Linked DNA regions of Homo sapiens: region 1 is linked to region 2. Evidence: promoter capture Hi-C in human tissues and cell types (Jung and others, 2019). All regions are on one chromosome and are shown on one strand. Each heading gives the region's core, a stretch centred on a gene start or on the middle of the fragment in contact. The rest is flanking DNA. Distances are from core to core; before and after follow the strand shown.

What was found. The method cuts DNA at HindIII sites, captures the fragments that hold promoters and counts their contacts. A contact is called where the count stands out against the background at its distance.
Region 1: a contact is called between a fragment that was not itself captured here and the fragment with the promoter of SOX5 in region 2, in 1 of the 25 tissues and cell types used here (dorsolateral prefrontal cortex).

What each region holds. Positions count from the first base shown.
Region 1 is chr12:24,555,566-24,561,374 of GRCh38, forward strand. It overlaps a transcript of SOX5 not described here. Among named protein-coding and RNA genes, the nearest start is that of LINC00477, 26 kb to the right of the region's middle. The HindIII fragment of the contact is 5,433 bases long and covers 1-5,262 here.
Region 2 is chr12:23,947,548-23,953,214 of GRCh38, forward strand. It overlaps SOX5 (SRY-box transcription factor 5), which reads right to left and starts at 2,123. Exons shown (of 15, transcript NM_006940.6): 1 at 2,017-2,123. The coding sequence starts at 2,054. The HindIII fragment of the contact is 5,378 bases long and covers 1-4,938 here.

The DNA.
Region 1 (5,809 bases), core at 1,296-3,795, 610 kb after region 2:
TTTCCTCCATGCCACAAACAGTACAATGGACTTAGAGATGATCTCGTATAACCTAATTTAATCCCAATTAGTGAGGTGATACTGCCATTACACTCATTTTGCAATTGAGGAAAACAAAGCTCAAAGAAACTCAAAACTCAAAGAGACCTCAAAGAAATTGCCAGGTCTCATGTGTGTGAGTGTGTGTGTGTGACAGAGAGACAGAAAAAGACAGAGTCCAAAGCAAGTGTCCAAAGCAAGTGAAGTACTACTAAACTGGGCTATACTGCCAAACCACAGCTATACCATTCAGATCTCCTGTTTTGAGAGTGTAACTGACTTACTTCCCCAACTGCTTCCCCTATGGCTCTAGCACCACTTAGGCACGGAGGCCATGCTTCCTGTAGCTGCTCCCAGCCAATGACTGACAGTGAGGAATGCTGATACAGGCCATTCTTTCAAGATAGGTGACTCTTCCAATGGCTGACTCTTATTTGCCTAGCCAAACCTTTCATAGGCTGCACTATAGTCAAGCTTCTTCCTACTCAATCGTCTTCCCTTGCCCCTCTCCTTGCATAAGTGTCAAACTTGCCTCATAGTCAAAAGGCTCTCCCGGCCTTGTCCTGCCCTCTCCCCTAATAAACTTCTTACAGGTCTAATCCCATCTTGGCAACTGCTTCTTCAGGAACCCCAATTAATGCAAGAAAATACATTTATTTTCTGTTTTAAGAAGACTTTCCTTTATCTTTGCTTAGTTGTACTGATAGACAAATTCTGTTTCATTGGGAAGAGAAAATAACAACTAATTTCTCCATGTTACTTTACATCACCTCTTCAAATCAGGCAATGGTATGTTTATGGTGCCTTTCTCCTTGCACCCAATTTAAATAAACAAACCAACCTACAAGTTTCTCTTTGAAGGACTGTTGACTCCAGAGAGCAAAACATTGAAAACTCAGATGGATTTCTTTTTCCACACGGACTTTCTGTTTATCCACAGGTACTATAACTTAATATAATGCAGAGGTGAATGACTATCAAACGATTAAATCTCAATAAATTTTCACTAGTTCATATTTGCTAACAGGAAATCAAAAAGATAACAAGAGGAAAAATCTACAGAATTAGGTCCTAAAGTTTTTATTTATCCTTACCTATTATGTAGGGTAAAAATGTTAATTACTGAAGGAGCACTTATATGAATAAAAGATAGAATTCACACTTGCACCAAATACAGCACCTTAATAAAACCACATTGTCAGAGATCATATACAGACCACTGAATCACTATTTTAAAGTGTTGATCTCAGCCTCAAGAAAGTGATACATTTTTTCTTTTTAGACTCAAATAAGTTCAAAGTAAGTACAAAATGAAACTTCAAACGTTATTAATGATCAGAACCTAGACTCGACTGGGAGAGAGAGCTGAGTGTAGCTAACATTTATTGAGCACCTAGTTCATGACAGACACTATGCTAGGCATTTCACACGTAGTATCTAACATAATCCAAACAATACCCCTATAAGAAAGGGCATCATAATTTGCAGTTTAAGAGGTTAAGAAGGCCAGGCACGGTGGCTCACGCTTGTAATCCCAGCACTTTGGGAGGCTGAGGTGGAGGATCACGAGGTCAGGAGATCGAGACCACTCTGACCAACATAGTGAAACCCCACCTCTACTAAAAATACAAAAATTAGCTGGGTGTGGCCGCGCATGCCTGCAATCCCAGCTACTCCAGAGGCTGAGGCACAAGAATCCCTTGAACCCAGGAGGCGGAGGGTTCAACATCCCTCCGCCTGTGGACCAACATAGCGCCACTGCACTCCAGCCTGGTGGCAGAGCAAGACTTCATTTCAAAAAAAAAAAAAAGAAAGAAAGAAAGAAAAAAAGAGGTTAAGAAAAAAAAGGAGGTAGAACCCTGTAAGTTCAGATCTCTAAATAACGTTTTGGATGAATCACAGACCTACAAATGAGATAGCCTTTCTCCTCTCCTGATTCCTTCCTGAATTCCCTCACTTCCAACAGTTTAATTGGTGTTGAAGTAAGAAAAAATGTCTTAAGCTACCAGAGAATACAAACTGCGTATCAAACTAAAGTCCGCTCATCCCTATGACTACTGTATTATTTTTAAGCTATGTACATAGGATATCATAAAAACATACAGTAGTTGAATGACATGTAGCTGAGCATCAGAGATACAATCAGGTCTTTGTTTTGGGGTGTTTTGTTTTTACTTATAATGAACTTTAAGAAATAGAAAATGAATGGACTTATACTTGTAGAATTCAATGCCACCATCACTAGTACTCCCCAAGATACATTTTTATGGCTCAATTTTGAAGGATGGTTATTTAATGGTTATTTACATGCATTCAAATTTTTCCTAATTTTGTCAATATGCTGCCCCTACTGAATGTTATCCTTAATTGCAAGTAAAATCATTAGTTGCCTATAAGGTATGATTTGAGTAGTCCTGAAAAAGTCCTCATGCATGTAAATATTTCCTCCTGGCAGCTTTCCTTGATACCTGTAATTGCAACAAGTTTATCTCTATGGAATTAGACGATCATAATAAACTGCCAAAATAACAGTAATATCATCTAGTTTGAGAATTAAACCATAATGAACTATTAGCAACTTTAAAATAATTAGCTTATGAGCCAGAGGTTAAATGGGGCAAATGAGGCAGGAATTCAGAAGGGCCCATCAAAGCAAAATGGACTGTCAAGGGCCCATCCTGAAGGTCAGGGTCCTCGCTGGTAAAGCCTTCAAAAGTCCCGTGTAGGCAGATAAAGGAGCAGGGCTTTGGAGGAAACAACCCCCCGCGAAATTCCGCTAACTCATAGTTAGCCTACCTTTGACCCTGACTCAATTTTAAAGACAAGGAAATTGAATTTGGTAAAATTTATTAAATAGTCCTACAGAAATGTCCCCATATGGCCTGGCTAAAACAAACTAAAAGTGCCTGATTGTCTGCCCTTCTACTGAGCCTTAAGCACTCCATTTCTCCCCTCTTAAATATCAAAATTCATTATATTTAAGCAAAAGGTTAGATCTTTGCTTCATATTTTTAAAAACTTCACTTTACTCCTTTATTAATGGCAACTTTTCATGCAAACGAACTCTTGGTTAATTTAAGATCTTGAAATTACTTCTCCACATCAGAAATCCCTCTCATAAATATTAGGTATGAGTGATTATTTACGTTACATCACACACACAAAGTAAACAACAAAGACCCCACTCACATTTGAGAATCATTTACTATTCCAACTCCCCAAGCTCCCCCAAATGGGAAATGGAATAACCAGACTGATCATAATTGGATTAAGAACCATAATTCTTTAATTCATTCATCAAATTGAGGCATTTGGAACAGTTTATTTACAGAGTTGTTTAGACAGTTTTGTGTGGTGTTTTTTAAGATAAACCAAAATGCCTTTCTGAAATAAGTTTCAGATCCCAAATCATTAACATATGAAAACCAAATGCAGACAATTTACAAATGGGTGTTTTAAAACAATGTTTGGAACAAAATTGGACTTTTATTTCATTAACTATCTACAAATCTAAGTTCAGGATATAGTTTATTTGAAACAGCCAAGCACTTTCTTCGCCTTTAAAATAAATCTTCATTTCTCAGACTAAAAATTTTTGACCAGTGCATGAGGGAATGCATTTGACTTCAGGCCTAGACAAATAAGTTTCCAGGTTACTCTCAAAACTCCAATTATAGCATTCTCTACCACTGAAGTTGATTGGATATTGGGTGAATCATCCAGGTTATGCCAATCAATTATATCCAACAATTATACCTGCTGGAAATCTAAACAGTATTCAACATTAGAACTCTCCGTTATTTGAAATCCAGTGTATTTTAGGAGATTAGGAAACATAAATTTTGTCCTGTAAGTTTTACTTTTTTATATAATCTGAACATACCCTCAAATCAATGATTACTTATCACTCAGAAAAAGAACAGAGCTTTTCAAGAAGGTAGTACATACTGTAAGCATTAGATCATATTTTAAACTTGCTTTGTAAGTAAAAAAAAAAAAATTCTTTAAGCATTTAAATTCATTCCTTTAACTGGAAAAGGTAAATTTAGAAATTTAAATTCTCCTTATCACTCATAACTCACCCCCACTGAGGACAACCAAAAAGATGACAACATACCTGAGTATAAACTTCACTCTTTTGCTATTTACTATTTATATACTCCACAGATAGCATCTTTCCAAGTGTATATTCATTTTTTTTCTTTTACCAAACCACGTGTCAGTCTAAACAGGATGTGCACTTACATGTATAGAACTAACTTAATTTGAATTAGCCATTGGACCTCAAATGCCTAGTTATTTACCAAACAGGTTTTGGAGTTTTGAATTCTATATACAACATGCCATTCAACCAGAACTGTTTAAGCTCAACAACAAAACTAATACAAGCTTTCCGTATTAAGAATTGAAGTTTTTCCTGTATTAAGAGTTTACACTTGCAAGTCTGTGTCAGATTGGATCAATACTACCCACTCAAAAAGGCTACAAAATGAATTTTTTTAAACCCACAGCAAGAAAAAACTGTTGATTCTTCAGGAACAAGGTTGTTAGAAGAGAGATCACTGGAAAGAAAAGGGGGAAAAAAGAAAGAATTTCAAGCAAGTATGCTACTATGTAATTAACACAAATAACTAAATAATTATGCACATCCCTTCCCACCCCCACAATTAAATGTTTTTAAACAACTCATGTGATGAAAGATCTACCTTTTAGGCAAACAAAAGCAATCCCTAGCAGTTTAAGGATTTAAGGCTGTATTGCATCAGTTTTAAGTGATGCTTATGATTTTTATCTTGTATAGTTCTGAGGAATAAACAGTTGATGGCATAATTTGCAGGAGAACTTTGCACAGTGCCTAAAAGAACTTCCACTGTAAGTACTTATGATTTTAAATCATTGTGGCTGAATTTATCTAGGCTTCTGCCTGGGAGCTATATTTAAATCAGGAAGAAGCACCCCTAGAAACTTTGTTCCATGTATCTGCATTTGAAACCAGATTCCTTCCCTATCTGAGCTAACAGCAATTCTCATACAGCTGAATTCCTTTAAAATTAGACAGATCAAAATTTAGCAGTTCTGTAAAGGCTCTAAGAAATCGTCCTCCTTTTAAATGCTATAAAAGTCAAACTTGAAAAACATTTCCGTATACTTTAAAGCCATCTGGCCCTTAACCTAATCACTCTTGGCCATCGAGCCTCACTCCCGTAATCCTGATCAAAAATTTTCCTCTGGTTTTTCTGATGGAAATGTCCATTGCCTACAAATCTCACATGTGCCTACTTCATTGGCCTGTTTGTGTCTGTGTGTGTGTTTTCAGGGTACTAGGGGCCATTATTTATGAAAAGCAAGGAAACAAATCACTGTCCAGTCCCTTTGCAGATTCCCACACTTACTGCCCCAAATCCCACAGATTTCCCTTGGTCCTGCCCTTGGCTAAAGAACTCTGCTGAGCCAGAAGGCAGTCCCTGGGGACACCTCCTTATGCCTTCCTTGACAAAGTCCTTTGGCTATCTGGGTATGTGAGGATCTCAAGTGGGTTCCAGCAAATCCCTAAACTTTTGTAAGAAAGTACAGTTGACTGCCACCCAGAGTGCCTGGACTGCCTGGCACCGAGTGTAGGGCTCTGCATATTCACAGGATTCCTCGTCTTGACCTGCTTTAGCTGAGAAGGGAACACATTAAAATGAATTCACATTCATCATCACATTCTGAATTTAGTCACAGAAACCAGCGTCTTCAGATATTCACCAGGGTCAATCTATTTATTAAT
Region 2 (5,667 bases), core at 873-3,372:
CACAGGGGAAATTATTAAGGAACGTTATATTGTGTGACATTTTTCAGAATTATTTTAGCTACTAATATTTCTAAATATGATAGTCATACTAACAACCCTATTGATTATCACTTGCTTATTTAATTAGCTAGTTAGAAAAGCATGCCTCTGGGTGAAAAAAAAAAATGAAATTCCCACCAGGAGGAAAAAAGATGTTAACAGATTTGAGCATCAGAATAGGAAAGGGAAAAGTTTAGTTTAAAAAGAGATAATTGAAAAAAAAATACAAATAAAGTTCACAGCAGGAAGCTTGCCTATATAGAGAAATAGGCTACAGCCTGTTAATATGTAACTACCTTTTTATAAGTACAATCTGTTAACAGGCTTACAAATCAGCCTCAGAGTTGTATTTGCAAAAAGTATAATTAGAATTAAAGAATATTATCATTTAAGTGCTACTCTGTGCATTCTAGAAAACTTAACTGTGTTAAATTAGCAAATCGCTACATTAGGTAATGTACAGTATGTTCCACTATGAATAACTTCAACATCTACCTATGATATAAGGCTATATTTGCAAATAAAAGCTCACTAATTAAAGAGTTAATATATAGAAGTGAAAATTTTAATTCAAAACTGTTAAGAAAGCTCAAACATTCGCTGGAATTATCTAGTAAAGATGCAATTTAATTATTAAAAAAAAAAACACAGAAGAAATCAAAGAAAGATGACAGCACCGAAGTATATGTGTTGGCTATTTTACTTTCTTCCCTGATTTGATACTGGCTTTTCTAATATGTGACCACATTCAAGCGTTACTTTATCCTCAATACTCTTTTTCTCTTCCATTGCTTCACTTCTAGAATGTTTTAATCTTTGTCCTTTCTTTTTTCGTCTTTTCATATCAAATTCAGTCGTTTGAGCGATGAACAGCTTGACTTAGCATATTTTTAACCAGCTGGTCTAGCACCTAGCTTGCATTGCATAGTCAGATACAACAAATGTTTATACAGAAGGTAGCTTTCATGAAAATGAAAAAAAGCCTGGGTATCATGCATCCTGGCTTTTTTTAGCTTTTTTTTTTTTAATTCACCATACAGAATACAAAGTTTGAATTCTTTTTAATGGCAAACAAAATTCTATTTATAGTTCAAAAAAATGAACTTATGCTGGGATAAGAACTCAAATTTAAAAATTGCAATGTGTACTTATAGGAACATTAAGAGGGCTAAAATTCTTTCAAAGCCCTGCTTTACTTGCAACAACATCAAATAAAAGGATGCTGCAGATATTTCTCTAAATAGGAACAACTTAATTACAAATACACTATTCCCATCATAGCAAAAGGGGAAAATACAGTAAATTAAAATTCAGTCAAGACAGCTAACACAAAAAGTGGCCACTAAAACTTAGAAAGGGAACAGCTCCATTTATCCCCTTTTCGCCCCTATTTTTGACACTTAGGGAGTAATCTAATATAGCGATGATGTTAAATTTTCTTTGGGGGGAAAAAACGCTCTCTTATATCAACAAAAGGTCATGTGCTTTACTGAGCAGCTTCCAAAGTTTTACGGAAGGATCAAATAGGAACTTATAGCCTCCGTTTAAAGCACCACTAAAACCTTCTGTCACCCTAGAAATTACATGAGACAGAGATGCTGAAAATGGTAACATTCTGCACAAAAGCGTTTTTAAAAGGTGGGGAGAAAACAATCAATGAAGGAAGAAAGTAAGAGAGTGAATGAGAAAGACAGAAGCAGCGAGTTGGGGAGAGAGAGAGAGATGCTTAAGGTTCATTTAATTTGCTGTTATAGGACGCAACCTAAAAACATTAGCAGAAATCTCGGAGACTTTGCAAATCAGTTCAGTTTGGTCCGGGCAATCACAACAAAAAATCAGCTAACAAGATTGCAGAAGCCCTAGCTAAAGGCTTCTCTAACAAACACGTTTTGGGGGAGCATCTTCCAATGATTCAGAGACTACTGTAAAATGGGAGAGTTGTACTTCAATATATTAGGGGGAAAAAACTGTACTCACCTTTCAAACTCCTGAGGTAAATCAGGGTCAGTAAGCATGCTGGAAAAGCACAATTTCCCTTTGTCACAGCAGCCACCTATGATCGTCTCCAACTGAACCTGTCAAGTGAGTCCAAACCTTCTAAACCAATTGATTTTCTCTCTGTCTCTTCCCCCCCTCCCTCCCTCCCTCTCTCTCTCTCTCTCTCTCCCTCTCTCTCTCTGTCTCTCTCTCTCTCTCTCTCTCTCTCTTTCTCCCCCCCTCCTTCCCCTCCTCTCTCTCCTAGGACTCCTTGACCAGTCTCTTAAAGGGGTAGTGCACTTCCAGCAGCGGAGTCTGGCTGCTCCCCCCTCCGCGGAGCCACACGCTCCGGCTGCAAGGCTCTAGACAACCTCAGGGTGCCTGTCCTTTCCTTTTAATTCTCTCTTCTAGACATCACTGAATGTGAGAAGTCAACTCATTTAACACGTCTCCCATACTCTGTCTTCTAAATCATAAAACTCACACACACACATACACACGCAGAACAGTATGATTTTGTAAAACGTATTTGCTGCTGATTAAAAACCTAGTCTATATAATAACAGAAGCTCGATTAAACTGCATTTATTAACTAATTAAGCAAAAAATTTAATGTTAGTAATAGCATTTTTACACAAAGAATTGTTATTCCTTCTCACCCTTTTCTAGGCTCTCTCCGTTCACACACGGAAATACACGCACACACACACACACACACTCACACACACACAACAATCAGGCATTGTTCTGAGGGAAGAAAAGCAACTTTGACAGATTGAAATATAGCAGAGGCCCCTTCAAGGAAACCTGTAAACAACTTGTCACTCACTCTGTCGGTCTCACTGTTAGCTCGTGCTTTCCGCAAAGTGGTGCGAACGTCCTGGCAACCCGACCAAAGTTTCCTCAGCTCTAAACTCCATAAAACACGATGTGCGATGTGGAGGGGAATAGGTATCCACATGCCAAAATAACATACACGAGCGAACAAAAACCCAAAACGAAATCAAAACATAAAAACAAAAAGACGGTACTAACAAACTGTCCTGTTTGGGATCGCTGGGGAGGTCAGGAGTAGGAAGCGCCCCCCTGGCTGTGGATCTCTTTAATTTCCTCTGCCCAGGCAGCCACAGATAACAAGGTGGACAAACTATGGCTTTACAGATTCTAAGCTGGCTGGCAAGGCACAGCCTCCATAGCAGTTCCAATTATCTAGATAAAAATCTGGCAGCCGAGAAAGGTAATCAGGTAATGTACCTTTGACACGAAATGACAGAGGCACATACACACAGAGAGAGAGACACTTACACAGACATGCATGCAGAGATGGTGGCTGCCCCGTGCACCGCAGCATCTGGTCAGGGAGTAAGCACACACTTACCAACAGGAGATAGTGTGCATTCTTCACACACGCATGCACACACACACACACACACACACACACTCACTCACGCACGCTCTCCACTCCTACTGGGAGGGTTCATTCTGCACAAAAGGCTACATTACAGAGCCCGCCCCAATAAGGGAAAGAGAGGAAAAAAAAGCCTTCCATTGTTGAGAGGGCAGGTCAGTTGATTAGATTTTCTGTGGAGAATTCCACGAGGAAATTCCCTTCAAAGCCGAAGTGATTAACTGGGGGCTATTCTGGAAATGGAGCAGACAATGGCTCAATAGTCTGTACAGCCAATGTCCAGGCTGGCACTGAACTCACTTAAAAAAAAAATAAAAGCCAGACTCCCTGTTCTTTTCCACACATTCCTCCCCCCCAACCCCCTCCACTCCTTCCAACTTCCCCTCCCAATTCCTTTTATTTTGCAGCTGGACAACATTAAGGGCCTTTAAAACCACAAGGGTTGACCCCACGGCAGTTTGATTAGGTCCCACTTTTTTTTCTGGAGACAGGCAAACAGTAAGTTTACTTTTTTAGACATTCACAGTGATACATCATACACATATTCCAAAGAGAAAAAAATCAATTATGAACTTATATTAGTAAATTTATTTTTCATTCAAAGCTTATAAATTTTTAGACAAGTTGATAATAACTTAATATTTAATTCTATCATCAGGAGATGTTCTAAAAATATATATATACACACACACACACTACAAAATCAATGTGGAATAAGATTTAAGCATGTCACTATGGAGTTAAGACACTAACAAAACATAGAACTATGACCCACCCTGAAAAAGCTGTTAACAAGGGATGTGGCAAAAATGACTTGATGCTGACATGATTTTCACTTTCAGCAGTTGGGGAAGGGGGGAAGAATATTACTCACTATTCTTTCTTGTTGTTAGTCTCAAATTATTTTTTGTTACAGCAACAACCTACTCCCACACAGAAAAATGAAAAAATTGTTGCATTTATTTTAAATCTCTATTTTTTCAGCCCTTAAGGGACCTACAATCTAATATACTCTAATGGATAATGTATACAAAAATTATATTTTTCTTCATTTGTTAATGGTTGTTATGAGAATTAGGGTATAGTAGCTGCATAGCTATATACACTTTTAAAAATATTTAAAATTTTTTTCCTAACTAGGAAAAATCTTGCTTATCTTATATCAATAGAGAAAAAAAGTGAAGAAGGAGGATGGGTGAGTTACAGGGAGCCATGGGAGTGGAGTCAGGAAGAGGAGGAGGCGGGAGGAGAGGACGCAGAGAGAGCACAAGGAGACATAGTGGCAGCATAAAGATAGAAACAAAGATAATGGCCATAAGGCAGGATGCTGAGATCCGTATGGTCCCAGCTGCTGTCTTGCTACAGCTACTACCTCTGGTTGTTTCTTTGAAACTCTAATCTAGAAGGTCACCAGAGCAGGTAAGAAAGAGTATGAGTGTTTGAGGCCAACTATAGTATAAAGAAAAGATACTCATATTAGAATCTTCCTTATATTTGATTTTGATTTTATTGGCACTTAATATATGTATACATCTGTACATATGCCAAATAAACACAAAGAATATAGAAGAGAATGTTAAATGGTTTGAAAGTTAGTTTTTTGACTTCAATATATTCTGCAAACATTACTGTAGCCATTCAAAAGACAAATTATTTCTTGCACAATCATCTATGCTGAAGGAGTTGAAATAGACGAGGAACTAGACAGAAAATTTGCCAAATAATGATCATCCTAATAATGATAATTTGAACTAATGGAACTCTAAGATCATAAGGAATTTTGTTCACATAAATTAGCTCATGGATCTTACAGAGTAGAAAGGGGTAGGTATGTATTTCCCTAATTTTCCCACTGTTTAACTTGGGCAAACAGAATTTAAAGTCATTCAACTGGTTAGTAGCCCATTTGTTGCTTGAAGCCACTTCTATCTATTTCACTTATGACACCATAATGCAGAATAAACTGATCCTCCAGAATTTATAGTTAGATGAAAATCCCAAGATGGTACTCATACTTTAAGTGACCTGAAAGGCTTTCAGGTAATTGTTATAAAAAATAAAATTTATAAAAGCTGTCATTAAGCTAATACTGTATATGATGGTTTAATTGAATATTTTAAAATGTACCTCTCTAAGCCATAAAAGTTTTCTTTCATTTGAATCCTATATTGAAAATTAGCATTTCTGTCAGACTTTAGAATATCAGCAAAAGGAAAGACTGTTCCAAAATGTTTTGGTTAAAT